2 separate regions of the Homo sapiens genome follow, and region 1 is linked to region 2. Evidence: promoter capture Hi-C in 16 types of primary human blood cells and fetal thymus (Javierre and others, 2016). All regions are on one chromosome and are shown on one strand. The core of a region is centred on a gene start or on the middle of the fragment in contact, and the rest is flanking DNA. Distances in the headings are between cores, read along the strand shown. Region 1 overlaps GRIN3A (glutamate ionotropic receptor NMDA type subunit 3A). Region 2 holds the start of OR13C5 (olfactory receptor family 13 subfamily C member 5).

Evidence for each region. Contacts are between HindIII fragments. The CHiCAGO score rates a contact against its expected background, and 5 or more counts as called.
Region 1: a contact is called between a fragment that was not itself captured here and the fragment with the promoter of OR13C5 in region 2, in 1 of 17 cell types (endothelial precursors). The highest score is 5.9, in endothelial precursors.

The regions. Positions count from the first base shown.
Region 1 is chr9:101,629,504-101,634,421 of GRCh38, forward strand. The region is part of intron 3 of GRIN3A (glutamate ionotropic receptor NMDA type subunit 3A); the gene reads right to left. Among named protein-coding and RNA genes, the nearest start is that of PPP3R2, 37 kb to the left of the region's middle. The HindIII fragment of the contact is 546 bases long and covers 1,296-1,841 here.
Region 2 is chr9:104,596,709-104,601,650 of GRCh38, forward strand. It overlaps OR13C5 (olfactory receptor family 13 subfamily C member 5), which reads right to left and starts at 2,705. Exons shown (of 1, transcript NM_001004482.1): 1 at 1,749-2,705. The coding sequence starts at 2,705. The coding sequence ends at 1,749. All of the region lies in intron 3 of LOC107987105 (a long non-coding RNA gene), which reads right to left. The HindIII fragment of the contact is 5,863 bases long and covers 1-4,942 here.

The DNA.
Region 1 (4,918 bases), core at 319-2,818, 3.0 Mb before region 2:
ACTGCCATATAGGAACTCTTAAAACCTGTTGTTCATTGTATTTCTTTGGTATTCCACTGTTAAGTAAGTAATATAGCTTGCTCTAAGTTTAATGTAATTGTTCCATGCACTGAACAAATTCTAATGTTTTATGCCAGCATAACCTTAATGCCACATCAACAATAATAACAATACTTAACATTTATTAAACACTTATTATGCGCCAAACAAGATACTTAGAGCTTTACATACATTATCGTGCTGAATCCTCATAATAGCTTCGTGAAGAGGGCACTGTTGTTACTTCCTCTTAGGGATGAGTAAACTGAAGCTCAGAGAAGTGAAGTAATGGGCATAAGGTCATGCAGTTGTAAGTAGCAGGGACTGGCTCAGAACCCATGTCTATCTTATTTCAAAGCATGTGCTATTATCTACTACATCATCTTGCATTCTAGCTCATGACAACAACTGAAGCGATGATGTTTATTAGGAGGAACTCACCAGGCTTTTAAAAATATTATCCTTATGCCTTGAACCCCCGGGGCTGTTCTCATAGTAGCAAATTGCAGTCGTATGGCTTGCGCAAGGCACATTTATCAGCATTGTCTGTCCAACATCTATTAATTTTTCAAGACCTAGGTCAAATTTTTCTATGTAAAGTCTTTTGTCTTGTGTAGCTTCACCCTCCTACCCAGAACAACAACAATGAAAAAACTACTTATTTATCTGTGCTGATATAGTATCTTGTACATATAAAATATGTAGGCAAAGACCTAGGTGAAAATTTTCTATGTGAAGCCTTTGGTCTTGTCTAGCTTCACCCTCCTACCCAAAACAACAACAATAGAGAAACATAACTACTTATTTATCTGTGCTGATATAGTAGCTTGTACATATAAAATATGTAGGCAAATATTTATTTAAGTAATCTTTGACCTTTCCGTGCATTATCTCCTTTGATCCTACCAAGAAATGTGAGGTAGATATGTCTATCATCTTTTTACATAAAGAAACTGAAGATTAGAAAGTGTGTCATTTGTCCAAGGTCACAGAGCTAGTAATTGTACCTGGGATTGGAATTCAGCCTGATCAAAGACATTCAGCTTTTGACAACTGTGTAACATTGCTTCTGATACTATATCATACTGACTCCCTCTGTCTGGATTTGCTACTTGTATGCCAGACGGTAAGCTAAGGGCTTTTAAAATTTTCACAATAATCTTACAAGATAGATGTTATTTTCTTATTTTGCAGATTAAAACACTGAGGCTTGGATAGTTAAAGTAACACCAACTTCTCACAACTAGGAATTAACAAGCTTCAGCCCATCCTATTTTCTGTAACTTGCAGACCAACTTTCATTTGTTTGTGTAATACAGTTACCTATCACGACCTTTGGCACCTTGCAGGTAGTCTATATCTGTTTGTCAAGTTAATTCATTTTATCTAGTCTATTTTTCTATCCTGCTTTATCCATTTAACTTATATGCATTCTTCTGCTCTCAGTTCAGTAATTACTTCCCTAACTTATTGTGTAGGCCAGATTCTTTTTTCGTAAGCCCTTACAGTACATATACCTATCTTTTGTAGAATCTATCACAGTTGCAGTTTTAAATTTAATTATGTAATCATGTGATTAGCGTCTAGACTCTCAGTTTCTTCACTAACTGGAAGCTCCATGTAAACAAGAATAATGTTAATTTTAATTTATCCTTGTATTTCTAATGCCTTTCATTTTGTAGTTGCTCAAGAAAATACTTGATGAGTAATTAATTGATAACTGTTCTTTGAACTTAGAGGAAGGTGACAGCTTTGTCATCTCACTTAGCACAAACTAAGCTAACAGTATAGCTTACAACTCAAGCTTTCTAAACAAACCCTCTCTTTAAGGTAAAAGGGCTGTAGAATCATTAATTAAAATACCTTTCTCTCATATAGAAACAGAATTCCTTCCAGAAATACATTCTTTACATTATGTTGTGATAATACTTTTATGGTCTATGACCAGGATTTTTAGGGAAATCCTGCTTTTCTGGGTCTCATTTTCTTTTCTGAATGCACCAGCACATCGTTCCTTTCCAAAGCATGGAAGGAATCAGGGAACCAGCAGACCCAGGCTCAGAATTCTGCTGGAGGACTGTCTCTTTGTGTTTTTCCTTTGCATGACTTTCTGTTGTATTTGCTCATCAGCTCCCATATCTGTCTTATTGGCTCTGTGAAGGCAAAGGTTCTGAGGTTCTGAGAATTGAAAGTTCCTTCAAGGATTAGCAAATAAGCAGACTCCAGGAGAGAAAGCATCTTATTAGCCTGACAGGGACCTCACTCTAACATGGAGATGTTTTGCAAACACTGCCACTGCTCTTATTTGAGTCACCATCATTTCTGTCATCCACATATTCCCTTTCTTCCTTTCTGATCCACTCAGAGAAATTTTAGAATTCAGATCTGATCATGTCCCTCACTTGCTTAATGCCCATCAATGGCTCCCCCATGGCCCTTGGGATGAAGTCCAAACTCCTCACATGGCCTCTAAGGTTCAGCATGTTTGGCTCCTGCCTTCCTTTTCCTAGCCTTGTCGTCCTGCTCTCCCCCTGGCCTTCCAAGCTTTGGCCAGTTCTCTCATTTCCAAAACAAACATTTTGCTTGGTCAGAGCTCTTGCATATAGTCTTCAGTCGGCCTGGGACACTTTTTCCTCATCCCTACTTCTTTGTCTAGCTAACTCTTAAATGTCACTTCCTGAGGAAAACCTTCACTGACCCCTAGACCTGTAACACCCTCCCATTATACCTACAGTTTCACATAGCACTGACAACACTTGGGATTATTTTTATAATTTGCCTTCCCTGCTAGATTGTAAGTTTCCATGAGGATGGTGCCCATAGTGATCTCATTCATGTGGTTGTAAGTCTTCAACAAATGTTAGCTGCTATTATTATTATCATTGTTATGCAACAAGCACAGGGCTTAGCACATAGTATATGCTTGATAAATAATGACATAATAAATGAATTGTCATCATTATTAAGAGAATGAATGAAATTCTCTTAGGTTAGATACATTAAAAATTTGGTGGTTTTTATCACACCTCCTGCTGTCTTTTTTCTCCTTAAAACTAATTTTTTCCTTTGTTACTTTAATTCATTCAAAATGATATATTCTTCTTTCTTTCTCTGTGTGAGATTATATTGAAAAATAACCATGGGCTACTCAGCAGTCACAGAATAATAGAATCAGAAAAGGGATCTAAGAAGCTATTGATGCAACCCAGTGGGCCAGGATGGTCTACCCTGTGTGTAATTCAGACAGCCAGGGATGTCAGAAAGCCTGCATCAAGGAAAAAGGATAAAAGTGTACAAACAGCTTAAGCATTTGAGCTGCATTACAACCATCACCAAGAAGTCCCAGTGAGAGAAGCATTTCTTTAAAGTTTCAGCTAAATACCTCACCAGCTCTTCCGATTCTGTTTATATTTGCATCAACCTTTTTAGGCCTTGGGGAAATATCTAAGGTTAAACTGTCTATTTGTATGTGAATTGTTCAGTATTAATGGAATACTGACCTCTACACAGAGTACCTACATGGAGAATAATCAGACATTCCCGAGAAAGCAGAGAAATGGCTCAAAACAAAATGAGGCGAACTCGGGAAATAATCAAGTTGCTATATCCAAGGTAGATGTAATGTTGCAGATTAAAAAATAATCCCAGTGCTGAGTATACTCATTTAAGGTCTTCATCTGTACCCATCTGAGATTAGTACTTAATTCATCAGTGAAATGTAGTCACTGGACCTGGTATTATGTTCTTTGGAGTTGGGTGGAAAGGGCTATTCCTAACTTGCCTAGTGGAATAGGATATAGTATGTATTGAATTCCCAGCTCCCTTCTACTGCATTACTTTATCCACTTATAACCTGTGGATGCTATAGTATCAAGTGGTCTCAGGGATGGAAGGGGCTTTGCAAGTCTAATCATCCACTAATGTCTGAGTCATCAGTGGACGATTAGCAGGGGTCCCAAACCCCTGGGCCATGGACAGGTAATGGTCCGTGGTCTGGTGGAACCAGGTGACACAGCCATGGGCAAGTGAGCATTATGGCCTGAGCTCTGCCTCCTGTAAGGTCAGCAGCGGCATGATATTCTCATAGGAGCATGAACCCTATTGTGAACTGCAAATGTGAGAGATCTAGGTTGCACATCCCTTACAAGAATCTAATGATAAATGTAATATACTTGGATTATCTCCAAACCATTACCACCCACCCCCAACCCATCCATGAAAAAATTGTCCACAAAATCGGTCCCTGGTGCCAAAAAGGTTGGGGACTGCTGCTTTATAGCAAGGTTAAATGTACTGACTAAGGTTTCTTCAAAATGTAGATTCCAATTCAGTAGGTCTAGGTGGAAGCTTAAGACTCTGCACCAACAAACTGCTAATTGATGCAAATGTCATGGTTTATGGACCAGGCTTTGAGTAGCAAGATTTTACTTATAATATTCCTATGAAGTGCCTGTTACGCTGTTACTTCTCTGCTTGATCATCTCCAGTGACAAGAAAATTACTCCTCCTGGCCGGGCATGGTGGTTTACGCCTGTAATCCCAGCACTTTGGGAGGCCGAGGCGGGTGGATCACGAGGTCAGGAGATCGAGACCATCCTGGCTAACACGGTGAAACCCTGTCTCTACTAAAAATACAAAAAGTTAGTTGGGAATGGTGGCGGGTGCCTGTAGTCCCAGGTATTCGGGAGGCTGAGGCAGGGGAATGGCGTGAACCCGGGAGGCGGAGCTTGCAGTGAGCCGAGATCGCGCCACTGCACTCCAGCCTGGGTGACAGAGTGAGACTCCGTCTCAAAAAAAAAAAAAAAAAAAAGAAAATTACTCCTTTTGAGGCATAGCTTCTGTAAATGAAAGGTGACTTTTGTCTCCACACAACCAATTG
Region 2 (4,942 bases), core at 1,455-3,954:
TTATTATGTTGTAAACATCACAGGGTATATTTATGCAAACCTAGATGATATAGCCTATTATACACTGAGGCTACATAGCATAGCCTATTGCTCCTAGGCTACAAAGCTGTACAGCATGCTACTGTACTGAACACTATAGGCAATTGTGTCACAATGGTATTTGTGTATCTAAAATAACAAGAAAAGTCACAGTAAAAATATAAAATTATAATCTCCTGAGACCACCATTATATGTTATCTGTCATTGATCAAAACGTTGTTAAATGGCACATGACTTTAGTTCCTTGTAGCTCTAGTTTACCTTAGATCAGCATTCATTCTGTATGCAGGGCATGGCCTCCAGAATTTCCCCAGAACCTCCAAATTTCCATGACATTGGTCTGAGCAACAAAGTGTCTTCACATAAAGAAGACACTTAATGAACTATATATGGAAACCCTGGAGACTTAATCTTTAGAACTCAAGGTAGTTCATGGCTATGATAACTCAAGATAATATTAAATAATATATTTTCCCCCAGGTTTTCATAGATAACAGAACATCAGTTTCCCCAGGCCAGTGGAGAATGAAAACTATGGCTTTTAATGTTAGTCTTTTCAGAATCATGGCAGACAACACATCCTGACATCTTCAAACTACCCCAGTATTTAGGGACCGAGAATAACATCTCATTTTTAAAGATTTCATTTTACGTAGCTTTTAGTATAATAGAGGCTGTCTGTAAGAGCCTGAAAAGGCTAATTGCAAAAAGTATATCAAGGATGTCTTATAAAGCAATGGCATATACAAATCCATAGAACAAAAAGAAGTATATGTGCAAATGTATAGCTATGAGGCAATTTTAAGAGAACTGTCGAATCCCTAGCAATGATGGGGAATAAGGGATTATTTGAAATTTTCTATTTGTCTATAGATATTATCCCATTACATTTTAATGTTAACAATAAGTTATAGGCCAAGGTGTACAAGCTCAAAATAGACTCATCACTATATACCCCTCATCTCACAAAATACAAGCCAATAAACATAATTTTCTAATAAGAGAGCTAACATGTTCCAGCAAAAAATGTAGAGTTGTTTTGTTTTGAACCCTCATTCTTTTACTTGTTATTTAATGATCACATATCATTTTAGATGAGTTGGTTGCCAATCTCTCCAAAATAAAAAAGACAACCAAAGACGTAAAAGAACTATACACTGAAAACTATAAAACATTGATAAAAAAATTGAAGAAGACATAAGTAAATCGAAAGATATTACATGTTCATGGATTAGAAGAATTAATATTGTGAAATGTCCATATTACCTAAAGCAATCTACAGATTCAATGCAATCTGTATCAAAATTCCAATGTCATTTTTCATAAAAATTGAAACAACAATCCTAAAATTTACATGGAACTAGAAAAGACCCTGCCTGGGCAAAGCAATCTGAAGCAAAAACAAAGCTGAGAGCACCATATGCTGCAGTTTTAAAATATGTTATAAAGTTATTGTAATCAAAAGAGCATGGTACTCAGATAAAAATAGACATATCAACCAATGGAACAGAATAGAAACTTATTTCCAAACACTGAAATTTATTTATTTACTTCTTTTCATTATGTATCGCAATCAGAGAAGTGTATTTTGGAGCTTTAGAACTTCGAGAGATGAATGTGAAACAGCAACGAGAACCTATCTGTTTAACCTTGGTTTCTCTAATTGATTTCCATATTGTGATTATAAAATTACTCTCACCTTTCTCATTTACTTGTTAAAATTTTTTCTTCTCAGTAGGTGTTTTACTGCCTCCTTCACATCCTTGTTTCTAAGACTGTAGATTAAAGGATTCATCATGGGAGTCATCACCCTGTAGAATATGAATATAAGTTTGTCAGTGGCATCCAAGTCATCTGAATTAAGTGTCTCTTGAGACTTGGGCTTCATGTACATGAGGAAGATGGTCCCACAGAATGTTATCACCACAGTCAGACGAGCTGAGCAGGTAGAGGAAGGTTTGCTTCTCCCCTCCGAAGAGCTAATTTTGAAGATGCTCAAAATGATTAACGTGTAAGAGACAATAATTAATAACAAAGGTGTCAATAGGAACAATGTTGTGGTCACAAGCAGGATGAACTCATTGCCTGAGATGTCAGCACAGGCCAGTTTCATGACAGCTAGAATTTCACAGGTGAAATGATTGATGATGTTATTCCTGCAGAAAGGCAATTGTACCACAAACACTGTTTGTACTGCAGAATTGACAGCTCCTATGATCCAGGACCCAGCTGCCATGGGTACATAGGCATCCTTACTCATGATGATGGGATATCTCAGAGGGTTGCAGATAGCCACATAGCGGTCAAAGGCCATCACGCCCAGAAGCACACACTCTGTTGTCCCCATGGCCAAGCTGAGGAACATCTGCACTGCACAGCCAGAAAGGGAAATGGTCTTTCTTTCTGAAAGGAAGCTCACTAGCGTGGAGGGAATAGAGGTGGTGGTGTAGCAGATGTCCAAGAAGGAGAGGTTCCCCAGAAAGAAGTACATAGGGGTGTGAAGGTGAGGGTCCAAGATGCTGATTAAAATGAGAGTACCATTCCCCAGAAGGATGACCACATACATTATGAAGATGAGCACAAAAAAGAGTAACTCAAGTCTTGGGTGACCAGAAAGTCCCTTCAGAAAAAATTCCACCAGAATGGTGTGGTTTTCCCATTCCATTTTACTCCCTCTTTAGCTTGTAAGACAGAGCATGTTAAGACAAATATTTATCTTACTCTGATTACTTTCAAGCATGTGTCAATGAATATGTGCCATAATTCCCAAGGAAAAAGAAAAATAAAATGGGAAAAGACCAAAGAAAGAAGAGAGAGCATAAAGAAAAGTCTACAGAAAAGAGGGAATTATGAATGGAGAGAGGGAAGGGAATGAATGAATGAATGAATGAATGGAGAGAAGGAAGGAAAGATAAAAGTAACATGTTTCATGCTACAGCCACTTAATTCATTTAATATCATCACAGTTCTAGGAAAGGGGTATTAGTATCCATATTTTACAGATGAATAAATCAAAGCGGATATGTTAAGTAAACTTGACCAAAGGTACATACTATATAGCAGAGCTAAGATTCAAACCGAAATATTCCTGTTGAAGTCTGAACTTTTTGTCATATTTGTCATCACATAGTAAACTGAAGGTTATAATAGAAATGAGCATTGTATTATGTAAAACTGAACACTAAACTATTTTATTGGCTATAAATCACCACACAATAGATCAATGCTCTTGTCACTCCTTGAAATTATACTATGTTACGTATATTGTCTGTCTTTCCCAGTAGAATGTAAACTTCATAAGGGCAGGTACTTATTCTTGCTTATTTCCACAGCCCCTGTAGCTAGAATAGAACAGACACCGAGGTAAATGTTCAAAAACATTTGTTGGATGCACAGACAAAATCAAAGGCAAAACAATTGCTATATTTCTTACTCTGCGCCAACCCTCTATTATTTGTTTTCTCTGTGCATTACATAATGGAGTCTGAAAAGCAAGCCTATGAGGTAATACTGTTACTCTTAGTATCACCAAGCCTATTGTGTAGAGGGGAAAATAAGGCACAGAAAAGTTAAGTAATTTGCTTAAGGTCAATTTCATAAAGACAGATAAATGAAAGAGCAAGGACTTAAACCCAAGCAGTATGGCTTCAGAATTCGAGCTCTTAATACTCAAAACTTAATACTCAGTACTTAATAACTTAATGCTTAAAGAGAATTTGCAAAGAGAATTTGGCTCATGGGCTAGAATATCTTGCAATCTCACTAACAGTATTAATATTTCAAAAGAAATATCAGATAAAAATGTGATTGGTCAGTAAGGGGATTTCAATATGGTAATTTGATAGCAGTTGATTTTGATGCTTCATATTTTGCTAGAAAAGTACTCATTTCTATAACAAATGTTTTGTCACAGAGTTGCATTTGATCATTATAATTCTTGTGTCCTCCCTTACATGAAAATTTCTCATTTTCATTATGATGCCTCTTTGACTTTTTTTTTCCTTTATTCAACTCACAAGGGGTTTTCCTATATTCCAGGTCTTTAAAAAAAAAAAACAGCTTTAGGATAGATTTATTCTCTTGACTTTTTGCGTTTCATTAAGTTTCTATCTTCATAAATTTCTTGTTTATTCGGATCTATTTTTCTAATTTTCTGATTTCTAATTTCTATTTTCCAAATCTATTTTTCTAATTTCTTGAAATAAGAAGACAAATTCTTATTTCCTCCTTCTTACTCGTCTATTTCTTGCTCTAATGAAGGCACTTAGAGCACTTTTTGTTTTATTATAGACTTTGTATTTTATGGGAATTTTTTTACTGGTTTCTAGATAATTTTTTTGTTTGTAAAGTTCCTCTGAAATCCAAGCATCTTTCTTCATTATTTAGTGACTGAGCATTTTCATTCTATTTTTACTATTTATTTCCTATTTTATTTTATGTATTTATTTATTTATTTATTTATTTATTTATTTATTTATTTTTCTGAGACGGAGTCTCCCTCTGTCATTCAGGCTGGAGTGTAGTGGTGCGATCTCAGCTCACTACAGCCTCCACCTCCCAGATTCAAGTGATTCTCCTGTCTCAGCCTTCTGAGTAGCTGGGACTACAGGCATGTGCCACCACGCCTGGCTAATTTTTGTGTTTTTGGTAGAGACAGGGTTTCACCATGTTGGCCAGGCTGGTCTTGAACACCTGACCTCAAGTGATCTGCCCACCTCAGCCTCCCAAAGTGCTGGGGTTACAGGCATGAGCCACCGTGCCCGGCCCCATTTTATTTTAATATGAAAACATGACCTATAATTCTCTAGTTTGCACATTTCGTTGTATTTGACTATTTTACAATAAGCACATATTTCCTTTGGAATTTTAGATATATAAATAAATTAAAGGTATTTGTCATCC